Regions from separate parts of the Homo sapiens genome. Here regions 1 and 2 are each linked to region 3. The links are contacts of gene promoters, found by promoter capture Hi-C in blood cells and fetal thymus (Javierre and others, 2016). All regions are on one chromosome and are shown on one strand. The core of a region is centred on a gene start or on the middle of the fragment in contact, and the rest is flanking DNA. Distances in the headings are between cores, read along the strand shown.

Region 1 (3,355 bases), core at 132-2,631, 200 kb before region 3:
AAGTGGCTGGGATTACAGGCGCACACCACCACGCCTAGCTAAATATTGTATTTTTAGTAGAGATGGAGTTTCCGTGTTGGCCAGGCTAGTTTCGAACTCCTAACCTCAAGAGATCCACCCACCTCGGCCTCTCAAAGTGCTGGGATTACAGGCGTGAGCCACTGCGCCCAGCCTATCTTGATGAACTGATGCTTTAGCAAGGTGCTTCATTTGAGTAAAAAGAAGAGACAATATTTAGAAGAATATTCAGTAGATGACATGAAACACGTAGACAGAGCAAGAATTGTGAAGCTGGTATTCAAAGGACTGAAGTTTAGGGGAACAGTCTATTAACGGGAAAGCCCAATATAAGACCCCGAAATAAATCAGACCTGGACCTTGCCCTTAGGAATACGCAGGCTTCCCTTCCTCACCATCCTTCAGTCCACAGACACCATGATGACTTGTTCATAAGGGTACTTCAGAGACAGTGAATTACTACCTAGTCACTACTGACTTTGAAAAGTATCTAATATGAAGCATCTACTGAGGAAAAAGATACTGTAAGTCATCTTCCAGCTCCAAGTAAAGTAGAGCCACTTGCAACTCAGTAAAAATGTTGAGTTTAGCCGGGCGCAGTGGCTCACACTTGTAATCCCAGCACTTTGGGAGGCTGAGGCAGGCAGATCACGAGGTCAGGAGATCGAGAGCATCCTGGCTAACACGGTGAAACCCCCTCTCTACTAAAAATACAAAAAATTAGCCCAGCTACTCGGGAGGCTGAGGCAGGAGAATGGCATGAACCTGGGAGGCGGAGCTTGCAGTGAGCCGAGATCGCGCCACTGCATTCCAGCCTGGGCGACAGAGAGAGACTCCGTCTCAAAAAAAAAAAAAAAAAAAAAAAAAAACTTGAGTTTTGCCAGGTGTGGCAGCTCACACCTATAATCCCAGCACTTTGGGAGGCCAAGGCAGGAGGATCACTTGAGCCCAAGAGTTCGAGACCAGCTTTGACAACACAGAGAGACCCTGTCTTTCAAAAAAAAAATGTTGAGTTCAAGAAGTGAGGAGTGTTTATGAGACCGAGCAGTGATCTCACAAGATTACTTCTCCATTTCAGGTGACAACCCCTCAACACAATTTGGTCAGGACATATATGTTCCATAAGAACGGAACATTCAGGGCCAGCACGGTGGCTTACACCTGTAATCCCACCACTTTGGGAGGTCGAGGCGGGTGGATCACTTGAGGTCAAAAGTTCAAGACCAGCCTGGCCAACATGGTGAAACCCCATCTCTACTAAAAATGCAAAAAGTAGCTGGGCTTGGTGTGGCATGCACCTATAATCCCAGCTACTCGGGAGGCTGAGACAGGAGAAATGCTTGAACCCAGGGCACTCCAGCCTGGGTGACAGAGCAAGACTCCATCTCAAAAAAAAAAAAAAGGAACCGAACATTCACTCAAGTATTTAACAAGCACTTCCTTGTGAGCTACACCTTGAAGGGGGCAAGACAATCACTGTCACCCAAAGGAGCTGCCTATCTACCTGAAAAGAAGAGACTTCTGCCATAACAGGAACTGCAAAGCCACCCCAGGTGGGTGCCCAGGACACAGGACACAGTGGTGCTAAAACAATAAAGGTGACTCCCCTTACCTGGCTGCTGAACTGGCGGCCATTGGCTGGATCTTTAGCAGCAACTAACAAAACACAAAACATTTTAAGTGAGCAATGGAACTCTTAGGCTTATTGTCATAGCTGAATATTCCAGGGTCTATGGCTTGAGCCTCTGTTTATTTTAATGAGAAAAATTAAAAGACATTATAATCTCTTTTAATTATGGATTTTTTTGTTGCTGTTAATGCTTCATATCCCTTCAATTCTCAAACCAAAAGCCCTCAAGTTACAAAATGGCACTTTCAACTGCAACACAGCTACCATAAAGGTCTCTGACATGCCAAGCACAGTGGCTCACACCTGTAATCCCGACACTTTGGGAGGCTGATGTCAAAGGACTGCTTGAGCCCAGGAGTTCAAGAACAGCCTGGAAAAATTAGGGAGACCCCGTTTCTACAAATAATTTAAAAATTATCAGAACAAAGTTCTCTGAGGAAAACTGGACAAAAACTGTTTAAATTAGCTGGGCATGGTAGTACACACCTGCAGTCCCAACTACTTGGAAGGATGAGGTAGGAAGATCACTTGAGCCCAGGCGGTGAGCTCATGACTGCAGTGAGCCATAATGTTTCTTTGCACTCCAGCCTGGGCAACCTTGTCTCAAAAAAAAAAAAAAAAAAAAAAAAAAACTCCAGGCACAGTGGCTGACTCCTGTAATCCCAGAACTCTGGGCTTGGTGGTGTACAACTGTAGTCCCAGCTACTCAGGAGGCTGAGGCTAGAGAATCGTTTGAACCTGGGAGGTGGAGGTTGCAGTGACCTGAGTTCATGCCACAGCACCTCAGCCTGGGCGACAGAGCAACACTCGGTCTCAAAAAAAAAAAAAAAAAAAAAAAAAAAAAAAAAAAAAAACAACAACAAAAAAAAAAACCTCTAAATGATTACCAAAAAAGTAAGGATTATGAAAGATGGAAAAATAAGTTTTGGACTGGAATATCAATCAAACTTTACCTCACAGTATTTATGCATAGATAAATACTCAAAATACCCACACACACACACACACACACACGCGCGCACGCGCACACAGTCCTTACTTGCAACCTGGTGCATTTCCTCCATACATGCTCTGATGACTGATCGGTAGTTTTTACTCACTCGAACCAATCTACAAAAAATGAAATAACACACAAGATGAGCCTGGAACATCTTGTAGTGCCACAAAGGAAGGAAACACTCAAATAAATGCAGAAATTTGCTGAAAGAAAGAGGAGAGCCGTTGTGAAGGAGCTCCTAACCTTCTGAAGCTGGAACAACTTGGACAACAAAATAAAACGCCACAAAACAACCCATGGGCTAAAGTTAATATCCACAAACCCATACTGCCATTAATTGTTGCAGATGAAATCTACTGGTCAGACCTTGTCTCAAAAAAATAAAAAAGATACATAAATGTATTTACTGGCCAGGCCCGGTGGCTCAGGCGTGTAATCCCAGCACTTTGGGAGGTGAAAGTGGGCAGATCACCTGAGGTCAGGTGTTTGAGACCAGCCTGGCCAACCTGGTGAAACCCTGTCTCTACTAAAAATACAAAAATCCCAGCTACTCAGGAGGCTGAGGCAGGAGAATCTCTTGAACCCGGCAGGCGGAGGTTGCAGTGAGCCAAGATCATGCCATTGCACTCCAGCCTGGGCGACAGAGTGAGACTCCATCTGAAAAAAAAAAAAAAAGAATAAGACAGGGTCCCCTGCCAGCAAGGAATTAC
Region 2 (3,771 bases), core at 1,061-3,560, 140 kb before region 3:
AAAAATACAAAAAAATTAGCCGGGCGTGGTGGCAGGCGCCTGTAGTCCCAGCTACTCAGGAGGCTGAGGCATGGGAATGGCATGAACGTGGGAGGTGGAGCTTGCAGTGAGCCGAGATTGTGCCACTGCACTCCAGCCTGGGCGACAGAGCGAGACTCTATCTCAAAAAAAAAAAAAAAAAAAAAAAAAAAGAATGGGAAGATTGGCCAGGTGCGGTGGCTCATGCTGTAATCCCAGCACTTTGGTAGGCCGAGGTGGGCGGATCACGAGGTCAGGAGATCTAGACCATCCTGGCTAACACGGTGAAACCCCATCTCTACTAAAAATACAAAAATTAGCCAGGCATGGTGGTGGGCGCCTGTAGTCCCAGCTACTTGGGAGGCTGAGGCAGGAGAATGGCGTGAACCCGGGAGGCGGAGCTTGCAGTGAACCGAGATTATGCCACCGCACTCCAGCCTGGGCGACAGAGCGAGACTCTGTCTCAAAAAAACGAAAACAACAACAACAAAAAAAGAAAGAATGGGAAGATTGGCTGGGCGTGCGGTGGTTCACACCTGTAATCCCAGCACTTTGGGAAGCCAAGGTGGGTGGATCACGAGGTCAGGAGATTGAGACCATGCTGGCTAACATGGTGAAACTCCATCTCTACTAATAAACTACAAAAAATTAGCCGGGCATGATGGCACGCACCTGTAGTCCTAGCTACTCGGGAGGCTGAGGCAGGAGAATCGCTTGAACCCGGGAGGTGGAGGCTGCAAGTGAGCAGAGATCGCGCCACCACTGCACTCCAGCCTGGGCGACAGAGCAAGACTCTGTCTCAAAAAAAAAAAAAAAAAGCTAAGATTTTGGCTAGATGCGGTGGCTTACACCTGTAATCCCAGCACTTTGGGAGGCCAAGGAGCATGGATCACCTGAGGTCAGGAGTTTGAGACCAGCCTGGCCAATATGGTGAAACGCCGTCTCTACTAAAAATACAAAAATTAGTCAGGGGTGGTGGCGCACGCCTGTAGTTCCAGCTATTACGGAGGCTGAGGCAGGAGAATCGCTTGAACCTGGGAGGTGGAGGTTGCATTGAGCGCCATTGCACTCTAGCCTGGGTGACAAGAGCGAAACTCCACTTCAAAAACAAAAAAAAAAAAGAAAGGAAAAAAAGAAGGGAAGATTCTAACACAAACAAGTGGTGCGCTTCGTGCTGTTGTGGTAAGCACATAAATGCATCATCCGTGCTTTCTAGAACAGAACTTCTCACTGGCTTTTCATGAAAGCCCGGGGGGGGAGGGTGGTTAACCTAGACTGCCCAGAATACAAACTTCCAACTACCTGAAAGGTGGCTTTGCAAAGAGGAATGTGGTTCAATTATTATGGAAATATTGAGACAAGCAAAGACATCTGCCTTGAGGAAATATGCAAGACATGAGAAGGGCCTGCCCTCTTTTGCCCAAGGCTTTCCTATTATGATCTTGTAAACCATCATTCCTGAATCCTCCAAGTGTGTCTGCATTTGTCGCATGGATAGATTTACCCAGACAGGTGGAAGAGTCATGACTTAAGGGTTATAAACAGCTGCAGAGGCCTGAGCTGCTTCCATAGTCTTGGTAGCAGGGAATGAGTCCATTCCTGGTGCCAGGCATTAACCAGCCTTAGAATAGGCCCCCAAATAGGAGCGACTGTAATTTTGGTCCAGTACATGCACCACCCATTACAACTAAACAGTAACATTAAAATGTAAGGAATTTCCAGTCCTTTTAAAAGGGATCATCTTGGTGCGCTCTCTGTTGCTGACTCATTGTGCGGCTGCTTTGAGACTATTAGGTTTCTAAATGGGACACACAGTAGGTATTCAACAGATAAATGTCAACTTGTTGCAGTACTTTTCATCCTTTAAGGAGGATGCCCTTACTATCCCACCATCAGTAAAGCAAATGAGAGAACAGTAACAGTGACAAATCTCCCTTCTGCTTGCCGAGGTTGTAACTCCCCAAGAAAGAGCTTCCCCCTCTGTCAGGTAACGTTTTACAGTGACAGCCAGCACGACTTCCACCCAGCGCGAGGTAGATTCGCCTTCCGTCCAATCATCGCCGAGATTTTGGGGTGGGGGAGGGGAGAGAGTCCCAAGGCCTTCCCAGTCCAGGAAGGGGGCGGGCTTAGGCTGAGCCGTGGCCGCCACAGCCCATCGTAATGCCGCATGGTGCTTGGCACTCCAGAGAGCCAATAGGAATGAAAGAATTCATTTGAATCGGCCAATGCCGGCGGGTTAGGGGGCGGGGGTTGAAAACCCTATAAAGGCGTCGATCGGCCGGACAGGCGGCAGCGGCGGCTCCTGCAGCGGTGGTCGGCTGTTGGGTGTGGAGTTTCCCAGCGCCCCTCGGGTCCGACCCTTTGAGCGTTCTGCTCCGGCGCCAGCCTACCTCGCTCCTCGGCGCCATGACCACAACCACCACCTTCAAGGGAGTCGACCCCAACAGCAGGAATAGCTCCCGGTGAGGCGACCGGGTCGCGCCCGAGCCGCGCGGGGCTGAGGGGCTGGGAGGGCCGCTGCCGGCGGGGCCTCGCGCCGGTCGTTGCGGGTAACGAGCCCCGTGCGCTGTGCTCGCGCCGGGGCGGGTGGCGGGGTTCTGCCGTCGGCGCCGCCTTTGTGCCGCCTGGCGAGCCCTGCGCGCCGGCCCCACCCGGGTCCCTGCTGCTCTCCATTCATTCCTTCCACGGAGTCAGGGGCTGAGGAGGCCGGGGCTGGTCGCCCCTCGGAGCACGGCCGGTTTTCGTTAATCGGAACCTTCGGGGAGGGCTTCGCTTTCTCCTGTGTGCATCCCGGCTGGTGCATCCCCAGGGTGGTGGGCTTGGCCCCCCAGGTGCCCGGGGATCCTTTAGGGCCCCATGCATGGTCAGGTCCTATTGTCCCATTGATGGGCCACGCGCTCCTGTCTCTCCCCCGTGGCATGCGGTTGGTCTCGCTCTCGCGCGCAGCCATTGGATCCGGAGACCGGATCGATCAGGTCCGGCGGGCTCCTTACCCTCGCCGTGCCCCCACTCCTTATTCGGACCTACCTGACAGGTGCATGTGTGGTCGAGCGGGGCTGGTCATCGCGACCCTTCACCCCCCATTGAGGACCCAATCGTTCTTCCCCTCTTCGAAGTGCCTCCCCTCTTCCAAGTGTCTCCCCTTCCTAACAAAGGAAAGACCCCTTCTCCCCATCCCTGCGCTCATTTCTAAGGCGGGGGGCGGGGGCGGGCGCGGGGAACGAGCCAACCCGAGTGGGTTTTCTGCGCTTAAACCTTCGGACCGTGGCCTTTGCATCCTACCTTCGCTTCCTCCTTTGACGTTTGCCCAGTGAGTTCATCCCTGGCCCTGGTTCCCTTGCAGGAGGAGGTTTCTTGTTCTTGGGCGGGGCCGGAGACATCCATTGTCTCTAACGTGGTAGCGCTACCTGGGAAGCGGGGGATTTTTCTTGCCCTTCTTCCCACTGCTTTTTGGGCTTGGGGCACTGGGTACAGTGTTTGGACAGGAACCCTTTTCCAAGTCCTTGCTTAACTTACTTGGTGGAAGGGTTTGGATTCTGTGGAAGGTGTCCACATTGTCTCAGCTAATTGCACACTGTTCTTTAAGGTGGGTTACAGTTATGTCTGGGATCCTCTTCAAGGCTTGGAAGAAGCTTAAATCACTTTTTTGAGCATGTATTTTACATCGATTATGACCTGCATTCATGTGTGGCTACCCTCGGGGTCCTGGCCAAGTGGCACAAAGGGAGCCATTTTGTGGGGCTAAGAAGACAC
Region 3 (3,821 bases), core at 1,020-3,519:
ATTAAGCTCCATGAAGGAGAGAGATCCTGTATTTTGTTTATCATGGCTGTATATGCTAGACTCAAGTAGTAGTAGACACAGTAGATATACAATAAACATTTTATTGAATGAATGAACAAATGAATGCTATTGCCACTCTCTCATCTCAGTTAATAGCAACTCAATCCTTTCACTGCTCAAGGCCCCAGACTTGGCTGGGCATGGTGGCTCACGCCTGTAATCCCAGCACTTTGGGAGGCTGAGGCGAGCAGATCATTTGAGGTCAGGAGTTTGAGACTAGCCTGGCCAACATGGTGAAAACCCTGTCTCTACTAAAAATGCAAAAATATGAGTCGGGCATGGTGGTGCATGCCTGTAATCCCAGCTACTCGGGAGGCTGAGGCACAAGAATCACTTGAACCCAGGAGGCGGAGGTTGCAGTGGGCTGAGATCACGCCACTGCACTCCAGCCTGGATGACAGAGTAAGACCCTGTCTCAAAAAAAAAAAAAAAAAAAAGCCTGGCGCGGTGGCTCACGCCCGTGATCAAGACCAACCTGGCTAATACGGTGAAACCCCCTCTCTACTAAAAAAAAAAAAAAAAAAAATTAGCCGGTTGTAGTGGTGGGCGCCTGTAGTCCCAGCTACTCAGGAGACTGAGGCAGGAGAATGGCGTGAACCCGGGAGGCGGAGCTTGCAGTGAACAGAGATTGCATCACTGCACTCCAGCCTGGGCGACAGAGTGAGACTCCGTCTCAAAAAAAAAAAAAAAAAAAAAAAAGGCCCCAGACTTCAATTCCTCTTTTATTCTCACTTCTCACATCCAATCAATTAGCAAATCTTGCAGGCTTTCTTTCCAAAATACGTCTAGGATCTGACCAATTCTCATGACTCCTACTGCTTCCACCCTGCTTATCATCTCTTGCCCTACATTGCAATCTCCTTACTTGTCTCCCTGATCTTGGCATCCTCTATCTGTTCTCTGTAAGGCTCTCTGAGTGATCCTTGTAAAACTAAGATAATTCCATTCTGCTTCAAGCTCTCCAATAGGTCTCCCTTGCGTTCAGAGGAAAGGCTGGAGGCCATTAAGTCCTAGTAACAGGCCTTTCCCCAGCCATCCCTCTCTTTGGCTTTGTCTCCTGACCCCTGCTGAGCCACACCTGGGGATTGCTACTGCCTTCAGGTTATTGCACTTTCTCTTCCCTCTGCCTAGGATGCTCATCCGCCCCCTATTCTCATGACTTGCTGTCTGGCTTCTTCCAGGTCGTTATTCAAATGCCACCTCATTGACAGCGTTCCTAGACAATCCTACTTAAAATTGCAACCCTACTTCCTACCTCTGGCACTACTTCTTCCTTCTTGGCTTTATTTTCTGCAAAGTACTACCTCACACATTCTATATTAGTCATTTACTTACTGCTTGTCTCCCTCCACTAGAACATAAGCTCCACAAGCTTTAGAATTTCAATTTTGTTTGCTACTCCATCCCCTAGCCTAGCACAGCTTTTGTTGAGTGAGTGAGTGAATTAATGAACAAATGAATGGATATTCTTTTCCAGTCCTGTAAGTGGAAGCTCAATGGGTTTGGGTGGGTCTTATCTCTCTTGCTCCGGGGCTTGATTCAATGCCTGCACACAGCTGGCTAAATAAATGCATCCTGAAGGAACGACAGAGAAGCTGTTTTATTCGCGCGTCCTGGGGTTACTAGAGACAATGGACACTGTAACGTCCCAAAGGGTAGCAAACAACTTGGCAGCCTCTTGCCTTTATTGTCCGCCTTGGAGGGCCAGAATGCCCGTATTTCCCCTTGGGACTGGAATTTGGTCTTGAGGGCCAAGGACACGAACGTAGAAAAGCTGGCAGCCTTGAAAGAAGCATACCCAGCCGGCCTTCCGGGCTCCTGCACATCTCGCGCTACAGCGAGCACCCCACTCCCGGCCAGGTTAGCGCAGACAGCCAGCCCCCTCCCGCGGCGACCATCACGTAGCCCCCCGACGTAGCTCCACATCCGGCCAATGGGCCTGGGGTTCCTAACGTCACCCAGCAGCCTGACAAAACGCCCCTTCCGTCCAGTCCTTCCCGGCTCACCGGGACCCTCCAGGCGGTGTCCGAGCCCTGAGATTCGGGGTAGAGCTTGTCCAGGCTGTAGATGCTCTTGAACTCAGTGCCGTCTTTCTGCTTGTGCAGCGCCCGGCGTGGGCACCGTGCGGGCGGTGGGAGCAGCCAGACTCCGGCTCGGCTCAGGCCCCAGCGCAGGCACCTGGTGGCCGCCATGCTCAGGTCTTGCGACTGCTTCCGGCGGGCGCTTCCTCCCCGCGGTCCGCAAACTCGAGCCGCCCTCGAGCTTTGGTTCCGCGCAGTTTCTAGGTCCCGCCGAGGGGAGGCGGCAAACTGGGGTCCCGCCGATGCTTTCTGGCCGGCCGCCTCCGGGAGGCCTGGTTGGCTGGGGAAGACGGTGGCCAGAGAGCGAGCTGCTACCGGAAGAGTGCCCCGATCTTGTGGCCCCCAGAAACACCACTTCTCTCCTTTCAGAGTCCGTGCCCTCCGCCTGGACCGCCCACTGCCCAATTCAAACAGCAGCGAGGCCTGCCCGGCCAGCCTGGGGCATCTCCCGCCCCGCGCTTCCCAGCCCCTTTACTCTGCTCTAATTTATCTTTTTTCTCTTCCTTTACAAAAATCACTCAGTCCTAATTGTCTAATTGCTGTCTCCTAGCCGGAATGTGAGCTCCAGGAGGGCACCGGCTCACTGGTATATCCCCAGCACCCAGAACATGGCACATCGTGGGCACCCCATGAGTACTGATAAAATGAATTCTGTAGGAATGTACTTTTGAAAGTTGGGTTCTGGTAGAGCTGAGTTTTAGGAACGCCAGGCTCTTTTTACAAGGCAGCCTATGAGCAAATTCCCCGCTGAGCACGTGTGTGTACTGGCTTATACCCAGCAGCTCTGCAGGACAAATACCAGATGGGAGGAGAAGGCAGGCCACCGAAAGAAATGTTTGCAAAACCTGGAACATCGTCCCCCGCCCTTCAGCTTTATGGAGCAAGATGATGCTTTCTTCCAGCCAGGAGAGAGGGGGTCCCTCGGGAGGTAGGGAGAGAATTCAGAGAACTGCCAGCTAACTAGAACCCTTTCATAGCGCTGGTAAGGGATGAACTACAGACAAGTTCCAATTCTGAAAAAGGTTCACAGTAGAGCAAGCAGTGTTTGAAAACAGCTAAACCTTAGTTAAGTTACTGTGTTGAGAGGCTATGTGGTAAATGGAAACAAAGCTAAATAAATGTTCATAATTATTAGTAATGCTAGCGATTGTTTCTTAATGAAGAGTTCTATTTTTAGGAACAAGCATAATTATCTAGAAAAATGTGCCCCCGGGGATGCTGGCTGATTGAAACAGGAGATTGTCATCACACCAAGCTTTTACCATCTCCGCATTATGGCTACAGCAAATCTTTAAGAAGGAATAAACCACTTTCTAAGCACTGGCTTTATAAGCTCAGACTAGAAAGGGGTGACAATTGACATATCTCGGGCTCTATCTCGGGTTGGGAGGAGAGTCTCCTGGGTCCCGCGCTGTTTGACTTAGTCCCAAGACCTCAAAGGGAATAGACGCATCTCTATGGCAACTGGAATAAGCTGCTCAGAGGAGCAAAACCAGGCATTCACTCAGGTCGGGGGCTAAGGGGTTATGAGTAATAAAGTCAGAACCTTTCCATGACATCATTGCTCTGAGGCTGGGCTCCAGCTCTGCACCTGACCCAAGGCAATAGGAAAAGGAAGCTGCAGGTTTCCATGGCCCCAAATAAACACAGCCTGCTTGGGCCATCTGGTGGCCTGGATTC

What was found. The method cuts DNA at HindIII sites, captures the fragments that hold promoters and counts their contacts. A CHiCAGO score of 5 or more calls a contact.
Region 1: a contact is called between a fragment that was not itself captured here and the fragment with the promoter of MRPL58 in region 3, in 1 of 17 cell types (endothelial precursors). The highest score is 5.1, in endothelial precursors.
Region 2: the fragment with the promoter of JPT1 here is called in contact with the fragment with the promoter of MRPL58 in region 3 in 1 of 17 cell types (erythroblasts); the score reaches 5.1 in erythroblasts.

What each region holds. Positions count from the first base shown.
Region 1 is chr17:75,211,395-75,214,749 of GRCh38, reverse strand. It overlaps NUP85 (nucleoporin 85), which reads right to left. Exons shown (of 19, transcript NM_024844.5): 4 at 2,688-2,758; 5 at 1,631-1,674. Among named protein-coding and RNA genes, the nearest start is that of NUP85, 7.4 kb to the right of the region's middle. The HindIII fragment of the contact is 5,491 bases long and covers 1-3,355 here.
Region 2 is chr17:75,153,051-75,156,821 of GRCh38, reverse strand. It overlaps JPT1 (Jupiter microtubule associated homolog 1), which reads left to right and starts at 2,310. Exons shown (of 5, transcript NM_016185.4): 1 at 2,310-2,480. The coding sequence starts at 2,425. RefSeq lists an enhancer at 1,227-1,822 and a silencer at 2,475-2,714. The HindIII fragment of the contact is 22,783 bases long and covers 1-3,652 here.
Region 3 is chr17:75,011,118-75,014,938 of GRCh38, reverse strand. MRPL58 (mitochondrial ribosomal protein L58) reads right to left here and starts at 2,269. Exons shown (of 6, transcript NM_001545.3): 1 at 2,067-2,269. The coding sequence starts at 2,252. RefSeq lists enhancers at 1,259-1,941, 1,962-2,041, 2,092-2,401, 1,942-2,625, 2,492-2,641 and a silencer at 2,294-2,476. The HindIII fragment of the contact is 1,964 bases long and covers 1,435-3,398 here.